Regions from separate parts of the Homo sapiens genome. Here regions 1 and 2 are each linked to region 3. Evidence: promoter capture Hi-C in human tissues and cell types (Jung and others, 2019). All regions are on one chromosome and are shown on one strand. Each heading gives the region's core, a stretch centred on a gene start or on the middle of the fragment in contact. The rest is flanking DNA. Distances are from core to core; before and after follow the strand shown. Region 1 overlaps EYA2 (EYA transcriptional coactivator and phosphatase 2). Region 2 overlaps EYA2 (EYA transcriptional coactivator and phosphatase 2). Region 3 holds the start of EYA2 (EYA transcriptional coactivator and phosphatase 2).

Region 1 (3,888 bases), core at 860-3,359, 110 kb before region 3:
GGTAGTCAATTCTCATGCCTACGTGCCAGGCACTGTCCTATTTACTTCATGTGAATTGGCTCATTTAAACTCCACCACAACTGTGATAAGCCTTGGAGGTAATTTTTGTTTCTATCCCCATTTTACAGGTAAGAAAACAGAGGCAGAGAGAGACTTAATAACACGCCACAAGCATACAGCAGATAGAGAATTTGAACCCTGGCTCCAGAGGCCACACCCTCAACCCCTCCACTATGCCACCCTCCCCCAGACACCACAACTATCATGTTTCTAACTGTCACAACTGGGTTAAGCGTACAGGTAAATGTTGATGAGATTCCCCAATCTGTATCTGATTCCATTTTGGTTACATCACTTTTGCTAAAGCCTGTTTGCTTCCAGAGTTCCTCTTCCACCTGAGGCCTCACAGCAGGTGAATGCAAAAGTTTATGGAATTATAAACAGATGTCCCTATGCCCTTCTTTCTTTTAGACTACTGCCACGATAAAGGGTTATTTGGGGGAACCTGCTGCAAAATGCATAAGAAACTCATTTGAGCTGGAGATGTCAGCCCCAGTCCTGGAAGGTGTCTCATCCATCAATATGGACTAGCTCTCCGGGGGCAGAGACTGCATCTCATCCATCTCTGAGTTTCTAGGGCTCAGTGTGGGGTTAGGTACTGAGGAGTGATGTGTGAATGGTAGAGGAGGAAGAAAGGATGCATGCACGCATATGTTCATTGCAGCACAATTTACAACAGCCAAGACATGGAATCATCCCAAATGCCCATCAATGATAGACTGGGTAAAGAAATTGTGGTACAGATACACCATAGAATACTATGCAGCCATAAAAAGGAACAAGATCATGTCCTTTGCAGGGATACAGATGAAGCTGGAAACCCTTATCCTCAGCAAACTAATGCAGGAACAGAAAACCAAACACTGCATGTTCTCACTTACAAGTGAGAGCTGAACAATGAGAACACATGGACACAGGGAGGGGTACAACACACACTGTGGCCTGTTAGGGAAGGGTAGGGGAGAGGGAGAGCATCAGGAAGAATAGCTAATGCATGTCGAATTTAATACCTAGGTGATGGGTTGACAGGTGCAGCAAACCACCATGGCACATGTTTACCTATGTAACAAACCTGCATGTTCTGCATGTGTATACTGGAACTTAAAATAAAGTAAAGAAATGATGAAAGGAGGGAGGGGAAAAGGGAGAGAGAGGTGGAGAGAAAAGGATGGGGGACGAAAGGGGAGGGAAGAGAGGAAGGGAAAGAGAAAAAGGGAGAGAAAAATAAGGATAGAAAGAAGGGAGCCTGTAATCCCAGCTACTTGGGAGGCTGAGGCAGAATTACTTGAACCTGGGAGGCAGAGGTTGCAGTGAGCTGAGATCACGCCACTGCACTCCAGCCTGGGTGACAGAGCAAGACTCTGTCTCGGAGAAAAAAAAAATAGAAGGGAGATTGAAAAGAAGGGAAAGGAAAGGAATGAGGAAAGGAGAAAGAAAGACAGTGGCAAAAAGGGAGGGAAAAATTAAGAAATTCCCTATGCATGGGAAAGCAGAGGAAGGGGAGAAAGAAAAGAATAAAAAAAAAAAAAAGAATGAAGAGAAGAAAGAAGAAAATAATAGCTAAGACTCTGAGGACACTCTGCTCCAGGCCCCATTCTAAGTGTGTTTTACCTGCTTTTGCTGGTTTCGTGGGGGCAGGCAGCATGACTGTCCCCCGCTCCCAGATGGGAGGGCTCAGGCCCAGGGAGGTGGAGTGACTTGCTCAAGCTCACTCAGCTAGGAAGTGCTACGGCTGGGATTCCTATCCAGGGAATCTGGCTCCAGGGCCCTCTCTCTTAACCTCTACCTTCCAAGAAAGAAGAAAAGGTGGGCATGTGAGCAGGAGACAAGTGAATGGCACTCACCTGGAGAAGAGCTGGGACACTCTCAGGGGGGCCGATTTGGTGATGCCTGCAGGAGAAAAAGAAAAATTGGAAGAGTTTTAGCGATTAGGGTGATGTTCTGCAGAGGTGGTGACTTCAGACACCACTTAAGCAGGAGCAGACTTGGAGGGGTGCTGCCCGCGGCTTTCTCCACCACAGATGCTTATCTGAGGCGCCACATCTCAGCACTCTTCTTCTTGAGGAGTTCGGAGCCCTTTCTGGGTGCACTTCGTCTCTGTGCAGTTAAGGAAAAATGACATCTAAAGAATCCATAGCACCTTGAAACATCAGAGTAGAGTCCATTTCTCCATCCATTGTACAGATGGAGAAACTGAGGCCAAAGAGACAGAAAGAATGTGCTTGAGCCAAGTCACATGACCAGGCAGCAGCACAACTAGGAAGTGAATCAAGCTGGTGCCATTTCCACTCCTGGATGGAAAACCGCTCCCTTCCCTGCCTCAAAAGCAATCCCCAAGAACCCCAGAATGGCAGACACAGGCTGGCTTTGCTCATCCAACCTCCATTTCCCTTCTTCTAATGACATGGCTTTGATGTTCCTCCCCTGCCTCCTCACTTCCAGTCCATGGAGTGCAGGTGCAGCTGGCCCCAACACTTTAGGGGAAGGAACCACTTCGATCATCTCCTAAGCTCCATCTAGGGTGGTGGAGCAGAGAGATGGATGACACCTGGGCTCCTGATGCAAGTACCTAACACCCAATCACTCAGCACACAATGTCCAATCATTGATGGGAGGCGATATGCAGGGGGTGACGAAAAGGTGACAGAGTTAAGCTGGGAGAGACGTTTGCCCGGGGATAATTTTACATAGGGACAGTTCACTGGGAAGTACTTTTGTGCTCCGTCATCTTGAACAATGCAACTCAATGTCCTCACTGCAGAGTCCTGGACAAATTCTAGATAATGTGTCTACTGATGGGAACAGCGTCAACCTGCCAATGCCCACTCCCTGTTCTGTAGGGCAGTGGCTGCGTCATCATCACAACCTAAGGCTGTGGAGCTCTGAGCCTGCCTCAGCCTCTGCGCTGGAGGCTCAGGAGACCAACGTGCACTTGCAACTCTGCCACTTCCTAGTTATGAGACTTCAGGCAAGTTCCTAGATCTCTGGGCCTCAGGGCTCCCCCCTGTGCAATGAGGATGAAAATACTTATCTTGCAAGGACAGGAAAGGATTAAATGAGATGATGCTGATAGCCATCATTTACCCAGTGCTTATTACGTGCCAAGCTCTCTTCTAAATTCTTTACCTGGATTAATTATTTTAATCCTCATAAGTACCCTGTGAGAAAGGTTCTATTCTCATCCTCAGATGAACAGCTGTAGGCACAGAGAGCTTAAGTAACTCACCCAGGGCCACACAGGAAGTACGGTGTGGATCTGTGATCTGAACCCAGGTGGTCTGGCTCCAGAGTCTGTCTTCTCAACCATGACACTACAGCTGACGATGACAGTCATTGTCATAAGAGCAGCTGGCATTCACTTAGAGGTTGACTATGTGCCAGGCCCTTGTTAACTGCTTATAGACAGGCTCTCATTGAGTCCTCACAACAGCGCTCTGAGCACGCGATGCCATTAACCCCGTTGTACAGATGAAGAAACCGGGGCTCCGAAGGTCAAGTGCCTTGTTCAAGTCACACAACCGTGGGCAAGGGAACTGGGACTTGAACCCAAAAGCTGTGTGAGTCCAAGGTCAACACTCTTAATGCCCTCCCCCTGGCTGAGCCAAATTCTGTTCAAGTCCCAAACCACTGGGGTTGGGGCGGGGGTGGTGGTCTTGAAGTTCATTTAGAGAGTCATAACTGGAATTAAGAAAAGGAGAATTGCCTATTTTATGATATACGATGGCAGCAGGTATTGCCCATAGTAAGAAGGAATTGTGTAACCCTTTTGTTGCAGGTCCAGGTGTGAGAATGTGTTGTGTGTGCATGCACGTGCATTCAACAATGCAG
Region 2 (3,729 bases), core at 25-2,524, 85 kb before region 3:
ATAGGAATGTGAACAAGCAACTCAAGGCAACTCAGTTTCCAGAGTTAGTAAAACCCTTCCAAAAATTCTAGTCATGGTTCTCATTTCCCAAGCACCTATTATACACCAGGCAATTTTCCTGATCACATTTACATGATCTCTTTTAATTCTCTCAACCACGCTGGGAGATAGAAGGATCTGTCCTGTATTTCCTCAAAGGCCGACTAAACACAGATTTAAGTCTGAGCAAAGTCTAGACACCAAGAAAACGTGAAATCATTCCTGTTTGGTGAACTTATCCTGTTCTGCCATGAGGATCTAAAAAGAAGCTTTTCAAATGTCAGCGCACTCCACCAATTGATGGATGGATAAAGAAAATGTGGTATGCATATACACTAGAATATTATTCAGCCATAAAAAACAATGAAATCCTGTCATTTGCAGCAACATGGATGGAACTGGAGGTCGTTATGTTAAGTGAAACAAGCCAAGGACAGAAAGACAAATATGGCATGTTCTCAATCACATGTGGGAGCTAAAAAAGTAGATCTCATGAAGATAGAGAGTAGACTGTGATTACTGAAGGCCAGGAAGGGTGGTGGGGAGGATGAAGAGAGGTTGATTAATGGGTACAAATATACAGTTAGAAGGAATAAGAGCTAGTGTTCAATAGAACAGTACGGTGACTATAATTAACAATAGTTTATCACACATTCAAAATAGCCAGAGTATAGAGTAATTTGAATGATGCTAACATAAAGAAAAGATACATATCTAAGGGGATGAAATCCCAATTATGCTGATTTGATCTGTATACATTATATGAACGTATCAAACAGTCACATGCACCCTGAAAATATGTCCATCTATTATGTATCAATAAAAAACAAAACTAAACAAAATTGTAAAAAAAATTTCAGCACAGCGAGTTTTTTGTCTTACGAACCACACCGTTTTATTATTGTATTGGAGGAGACAATGGAGGAGAGAGGCCAGTCTCTGGTGTTTGAGGCTGCTAAAGGTCTTAACCTGGCCCTAATTATATTGCTTAGTTTACAGATACTAGAAATAAAAACAGCTCACAGTTACAGAGCATTTACGCTGAGGCTTAAATCTCTCTGCATGCACTGGCTCGTTTCATCCTATGAAGTAGGTAGAGATAAGGAGACAGGTTCAGAGACTGACCTGGCTAGTCAGTGGTAGAGTCAGGATTCTCAACCAGGTGATCTGGCTCCAGATCTGTGCTCTTAACCACAGCTTGCAAATAGCTCTGGATCACAATTTCAACTCAGGGCCCATCCAGCTCTAAAGTCTACTAAGCTACCCAGTCAGAGCACCAGACGTGTTATCTGCTCCAGGGGTTCAAATCCCAGCTATGTCGTTATCAGCGGTGTAACCTTGGGCAAGTTATTTCACTTATCTGAGCCTCAGTTCTATAAGATGGAGAAAATAATACCCTCCCCGCCAGGTTATTCTGAGAAAAATGAGTCAGAGAAGGCACGAGTGAGTGGGTATTCAACAAAGGGCAGCTGAGATTATTTGCATGCACACAGACAAAGGCTTGAAACACACCATTCGTTTCATTCCAGGTAGACACTGGAAACTGTCATCAGGATCACCCGGAAACCACTGGTTCCTATTGTGGTTTGAGGGGCAGAGTTGAGCTCTGCTGCACTTTGGTGGGGAAGGCTTCCTTCACATTCTCCCCACTCTTCCCCACCTCACAATTACCTGAAATTGGAGACCAGCTTATTCTCTATGCAGGGGAAGGAAGAGAGAACTCAGACAGCCTTCAAGGAATCTGGGGTAGGAGAAAGACTTAGCTTCCCTTTCACGAAGGCAGGGAAGGGAAAGGAAGGAAAAGCATGGAATTCATTTACAAAAAAAAAAAATTCTTTCTTTGTTGCATTGTTGCAAAACCCTGATAGCCTGGCTACTTCAGAAGACAGCCTGAAGGAGCGGGAAGAAAGAGGCATTCAGGAACACCCTCCCTCTGGCCCCCTTGGCCTGCTGCTGCCTGCGGCTTGTGCCATTTGTTACCCTTGTCACCACCCCTGTCCCTGGGGACTGGGAAGAAGTGGGGGAGCCCGAGAGATGACAGCTGGAGGGTGGGGGCAGGGGCAGCTTCAAAGGCTGGGAGGGATCAAAAGCAGATGGAGGGTCCCAGGCGGGTGGGCCGCTCACCTTTCCACACCCCCGTGAGTACACCAGCTACCTTGGCTGAGGATGGTGGCCCTGTCTGTCAGATGCAGAGGACAGATGGCCAGTCGGCTAAGGGGACTTTGGAGAGGGTCACTCCCAGCATCCTTCACGGGCTGAGAAATCAAAGCCTGCTGACTTCAATCACAGGCTTCTGGACAGACAGCAGCTGTGGCCCAAACCTGGACGTCTCTGACAGCCTCCACCAGCCTCATTCAATTTCCATTCAAAATACATCTGTGAATCACAAACCATCTTGGCTTCCCCCATTTCGGGGGCAGTTGCTCAAACCAAAAGCTCAGGATTGCTCTTACTTCTCCCTCTCCTTCAATGCTCACGTCCAATCCATCTCCAGGCCTTATAAAGTTCACCTCCATGGCCATCGCCCAGGTCCAAGCCACCATCCTCTCTGCCCAGGAAGACCACGGCAGCCCCCCTGCCCACCTCCCTGGGGCCACCGGGGCCTCCCTCCAGTTTGTTCTCTGTGCAGCAAATGACAGCATAAATCTGAACCTGCCCGCCTCACCTCATCCTTGCTTATAACCTCTGACGGCTTTCCATTGCTCTTAAGATAAAGCAAAGAGTTCCGAACACAGCCTTGATCTGGCTTCTCCTTGTCCAATATCTGATTCCAGCACGCTGGCCTTTCTCTCGCTCCACACTCCCTCTTGCCACAGGGCCTTTGTACATGCTGTTCCCTCTGCCTGGAACTCCAGTCCCTCCTGCTCACCCTGCAGAGGCCTCAGTTCCGGCAGGATTTCCCCAGGCTCTCCCTGAGTAAGCGATTTCCCTCCTGCAGCTTTCACAGGCCCATGGCCCTCTATCACACACACCAGTCACTGTAACAGTTTTTACAGGTGTTTGTGAGTTATTTAATTTCCCTAGGTCTCCCCATGACTCTCAGTCCACGTGGCTTGGCTGGGACTGACCCTACTAACAAGCTCTGAGCCTGGCAATTAGCATCTCCCATTCCTCGGTCTACAGTGATTGGCTCCAGGGTGGTGGTCACGTGAGCCACCTGGGGCCAACGGGAGGCCCAAGATGAACTGCTGGAGAAGAGACGTTCTCTCCTGCTGCACACAAGCCCTGGAAGATGCCTACCTGGAGCCGTGGGCAGACCCTTGCCTGCGGGACTGCAGACTGCCTTTTGTTTTGATACAGGTATATCACGCCCCAGGTGTTCAGTGTGAAAAATTAGAGTAGGAATCAGCTGTGGGTCCAGCCAGTGAAATTCAGGTGCTGTTGTCACTTCAACAACTTTGGGGAAGAACTCCACAAGCCACAAGGAAGTGATCACAAATCCCTCCTCCTGTCCACACCTCCATCCTCCCCTACCCTGTCTCCCTTAACATGGGGAAGTGTCATTGAATAGAAGTTGTGGGGCAGGGCTGCAATGTGTTGGGAATCATCTCCCCAGATAAATAAGGCAAATTCAGTTTCCTTTGCAAAGGCTAGAAGGCAGATAAATGGATCAGGAACACAGCTGACACTAAAGCCATTCACTGATTCATTCATTGAGTCAGGCTGCCCATCATTTAGAATCACCGATGC
Region 3 (3,807 bases), core at 1,066-3,565:
TGAAACAGCGTGTCTTGGGCGTTTTTGCCAAATGGTAATCCTATAACAAGTCAACAAATCATACCTCTTTATGATGTGTTTAATGCAAAACAAAAGACATGAAAAGAAGATTCTAAAACTTACGTGATGAAAACTTTTTAAAAAAATCCTAAAGTATTGAGATACACATCTTTTTATTTTATTTTATATTTCCTTTAGTTTTTCTGATATTGGGGAAGTGATTTGTGTGTTTATAGAGTATTCTCATACACATGGTCACAACACCAGGTGAGCTATTTTAAGACAGAAAAGAAAAATGCCAATTCCTTTCAGATAAAATAGTGAATGATATTGTGAAGCTGAAGTTACAAGAGAATGGGGACATATAAACTGCTTTAAAGTAAAAAAAAGTTCAGGCTCTTTTGCATCTAACCACATTGGTCTTTTCACAATGGCAAAAGTTAAGAGTTTGCTACGAAGGCAAGGAGATTTTTTTTAATACAAACACAATTTAATGCTTAGTCAAAAGCAAGATTCAAACCACTATCATTTGTTATTTGTTATATAAATTATAGAAGAACTTACCCAAGTGTGAGAGTGTCTAAATGCAAAGATATGTAAAGGATGAAGGGGCTTAAGGTGATGAAGAAAGACAAGTGGAAAAAATGAACATTTATTTATCGAGTAAAATTGTGAAAGATTCTTTCACAAAGATTATTTTGAAAAAGAGGTTCTCTCCTCCCACTCTTTCTTTGTGTACCTCTTTTTTTTTTTGTAAGCAGGATGGTTACATGTGTATGTTAGTTGCTAACAAATGGGTCATAGTCTGGTAAGGTGCTTACTAGTTCTGTATCTATTATGGTCACAGACATTTCACTCAATCAAGAAACGGCTCATGAAATTAATAGATTCGGTTTGAAATACAATTGTCCACTGGTTATAATTTCCTTTGTAAGGGATCTCCCTAACTCAAACATAATTCAGTGCTCAAATTCTTACATGATGTTTGTAAATCATCCTCCTGCCCCTCCGCCCTCGCTAACAGCTAGATTCCAATGTTCAGCTCTTCCACTGCACCTCGTAATTAAAAGGTACCTCTTACCGGGGTGATTTATACCTCCACGTTATATTTTAAAAAGTAATTGAAGATTACATAGCATTTCGGGGAAGGGGAAAGAAAAGAAAAGGGTATCCATAAAAACGCAGCATCGGTCTTGCTTTTTAAAAAGAATTCAGACCGCGGCAGGGTGCACGCTGTCAACTCTCAGCCTCGGCTTCGGGGAAGCAGGAACCTCGCACTGCAAAAGGCGCTTCCAGTTCAACAGCTGAGAAAAGCGCACTGAGTCTTTTGCGATAGGAGTACGTTCACCAGTCACGCTTTCCTAGTATTCCTTGAGCTTATAAACTATTTATTGCTGGGGGGGAGGCAGGCAGGAATATATTGAAGGAGCCTGGGCCAGCACGGCCGTTTAACCTCCAGACTTCATGACTAAAAAACAATTCCATTTCCCACTTTCTCCCATTACAACGAAATCCTTGCCGCCTTCTAAACACCCTTCGGATGTAAACTTTTCTAAGTTTCAACTCTACCCGCAGCAGGCGCCAGGATTCCCTGCCCCGGTTCAAAGCCCCAGACCTGAACCAGAGCGGGCCGAGCGCAAACGGACTTTTGAAAAGAAATATATCAATAGCTAGAAGGCAAAGTCTCAGCGGGCCGTTCCAGCCCCAAGCCGGGATTCCAGCGGTTGGCTCTGCTTCTTGGTTATCCCATAAACACTACCTGAGGGCTTGAGTTTGCGGACTGGGGGAGCGCCCCTTATCGCGAACCGCCGGGACCATAATCGAACAAAACGCCAAGGACCCAGCCGCGTCTACACCGCCTGCGCGCCATGCACTTGTCCCGCGCGCGGGAGAGCAAACTTCAGGGTCGTTGCCCCAAAGCGCATGGGGAAACTGGGGCCCCGAGCCTGGGAGAGCCTTTCCAGAGGGGGGCTCTGCTGCTGTCCCCTCTGCCCTTGTGCCTTCCTGGCCCTGGGAGGCCCGTGCGCCCCAGAACGTCCCGACAGCTGCGGAGGCCCCGCTTGGCGAGTGCCAGAAAGAGGCGCAGGGCGAGGGGGTCCCGGTGAACAACTCCCCCCGCCCGGCGAATCCCGGCGGGCGGCCTGGGGTGGGCGCCGCTGGCGGTACTCACCGCGCGCAGTGGAGAGGGCGCCCCGACGCGGTGCGGGCGGGCGGGCGGGCCGGTGCGGGTCCGACGAGGCCGGGCTGACTGCGGCGGGCACGTTGCTGTCTCTGCCGTTGCCGCTGCCTCCGCCTCCTGGGCTGCCGCGGCTGCTGCCTGCGCCGGGAGGACCGGCCCCTTCTCCTCCCTGGGCCGGGCCCTCCCTCTGCCCCCGCCCGGGTCCCCGCGCCGCTGCGTGGGCGCGTGGGGGCGCCGAGGCGCGACGCTGGGCTACGCGGGCGCACACACCCGGCGGCTGGACGCAGGGCGCGGGGCTCTGGCCCAGCACGTGCCGCCGCGCCGCTTCCTGAGCCTGCAGCCGAGCAGAGCGCGCTCACTCTCGCCGGTCCTGGAGGCCAGGGCCCAGCCTCCTCCCCACCCACCGACACCCCGCACCTCCTCCCTCCCCGGGGCAGCACATCCTCCCTGCAACCCAGGCATGACCCCTGTGAAAGGAACGACGGCTCGGAGAGGACCTCAATAGTGACACTAACATTCGTTCACTCAACCACCCATTCATTCATTCAAAATATATTGAGCATCTACTGTGCCAGGTACCACTCCTGAGAGACTCAGCTAGAACAAGACAGACTAGTTTTCTGCCCTCCCGGAACTTGCATTCACATGGAGAGGCAAACCATAAACAAATAACCAAGTAAAGAAGCAAGACAGTTTCAGAAAGTTAGAGTTACAGGGAGAAAAATAATATATGTATCTGCTGTTGGGGAGTGGAGGAGAGGCGGTAATTTTAGCTAGAGCAGTCAGGGAAGACCTCTCTGAGGAGGTGACATCTGAATTATGAGGAAGTGCCATTGGTGTGGTATTTAGGTGAGAACGGTTCAGGGGTCTCCCCTATGTTTCACCCATTTTACAGCTAAGGAAACTGAGGTCTCAAGAGCTTAACTGGTTTAGTGAAAGTGAGAGGTATAGCCCCCTCCACCTACATGCCCAAATCAAGGCACCCCACTTACTCCATCCTCTCATAGCCACCCCCCTTTTAGTCTCCCTGGCAATGAACTGTGTTAATTGGAGTCTATGCAGCCTTTCCTAGCCCGTCACCCACTCTCTAATGTCTATGAATTCCACCGTGGGACACCCAGGATGCTTCAATCCAAAAGCAATATCAACCACTGTCATTTCTTAAGTGCAGTAAAAGACAGGGCACCCAGGTGAATTTGAATTTCAGAGAAACGAGGAATCAGTTGCAGTATATGTCTTATGCGATTGGTTGTACGTACTTATATTTAAAAAGTATTTCTTTTGTCTCCGAAATTCCAATGTAACCGGGGGTCCTATATTTTTATTTGCAACCTTAAGCTCATCCAATGCCCAACTCTTCCTTATCTCATGTAATCCCCAAGAGAGACCCCAAGGTAGCTGCTGTCAGCACACTCATTTCACAAATGAGCAGGTCCAAGCTCAAAGAAGGCAGAAAGTGGCTGAGCCAGGAATGAAATTCAGGCCTGGCTGACTCCAAAGCCGTTGCTCTTGAGCCGTAACAGTCTTCAATTCCAGTTGTAAGTTTACAGGAGCTGATGAAGGTTAAGTTCTTGGGCCCCTGACTTGCTTGGACCCCTTTCTAAGGGGACTTAGAAAAGTGTTCAGAT

What was found. The method cuts DNA at HindIII sites, captures the fragments that hold promoters and counts their contacts. A contact is called where the count stands out against the background at its distance.
Region 1: a fragment that was not itself captured here is called in contact with the fragment with the promoter of EYA2 in region 3 in 3 of the 25 tissues and cell types used here (IMR-90 fibroblasts, liver and stomach).
Region 2: a fragment that was not itself captured here is called in contact with the fragment with the promoter of EYA2 in region 3 in 2 of the 25 tissues and cell types used here (H1 embryonic stem cells and bladder).

The regions. Positions count from the first base shown.
Region 1 is chr20:46,999,490-47,003,377 of GRCh38, reverse strand. It overlaps EYA2 (EYA transcriptional coactivator and phosphatase 2), which reads right to left. Exons shown (of 16, transcript NM_005244.5): 3 at 1,905-1,950. Among named protein-coding and RNA genes, the nearest start is that of EYA2-AS1, 100 kb to the right of the region's middle. The HindIII fragment of the contact is 6,946 bases long and covers 1-3,888 here.
Region 2 is chr20:46,977,612-46,981,340 of GRCh38, reverse strand. The region is part of intron 1 of EYA2 (EYA transcriptional coactivator and phosphatase 2); the gene reads right to left. Among named protein-coding and RNA genes, the nearest start is that of EYA2-AS1, 78 kb to the right of the region's middle. The HindIII fragment of the contact is 7,567 bases long and covers 1-3,729 here.
Region 3 is chr20:46,893,351-46,897,157 of GRCh38, reverse strand. EYA2 (EYA transcriptional coactivator and phosphatase 2) reads right to left here and starts at 2,315. Exons shown (of 16, transcript NM_005244.5): 1 at 2,171-2,315. The HindIII fragment of the contact is 22,949 bases long and covers 1-3,807 here.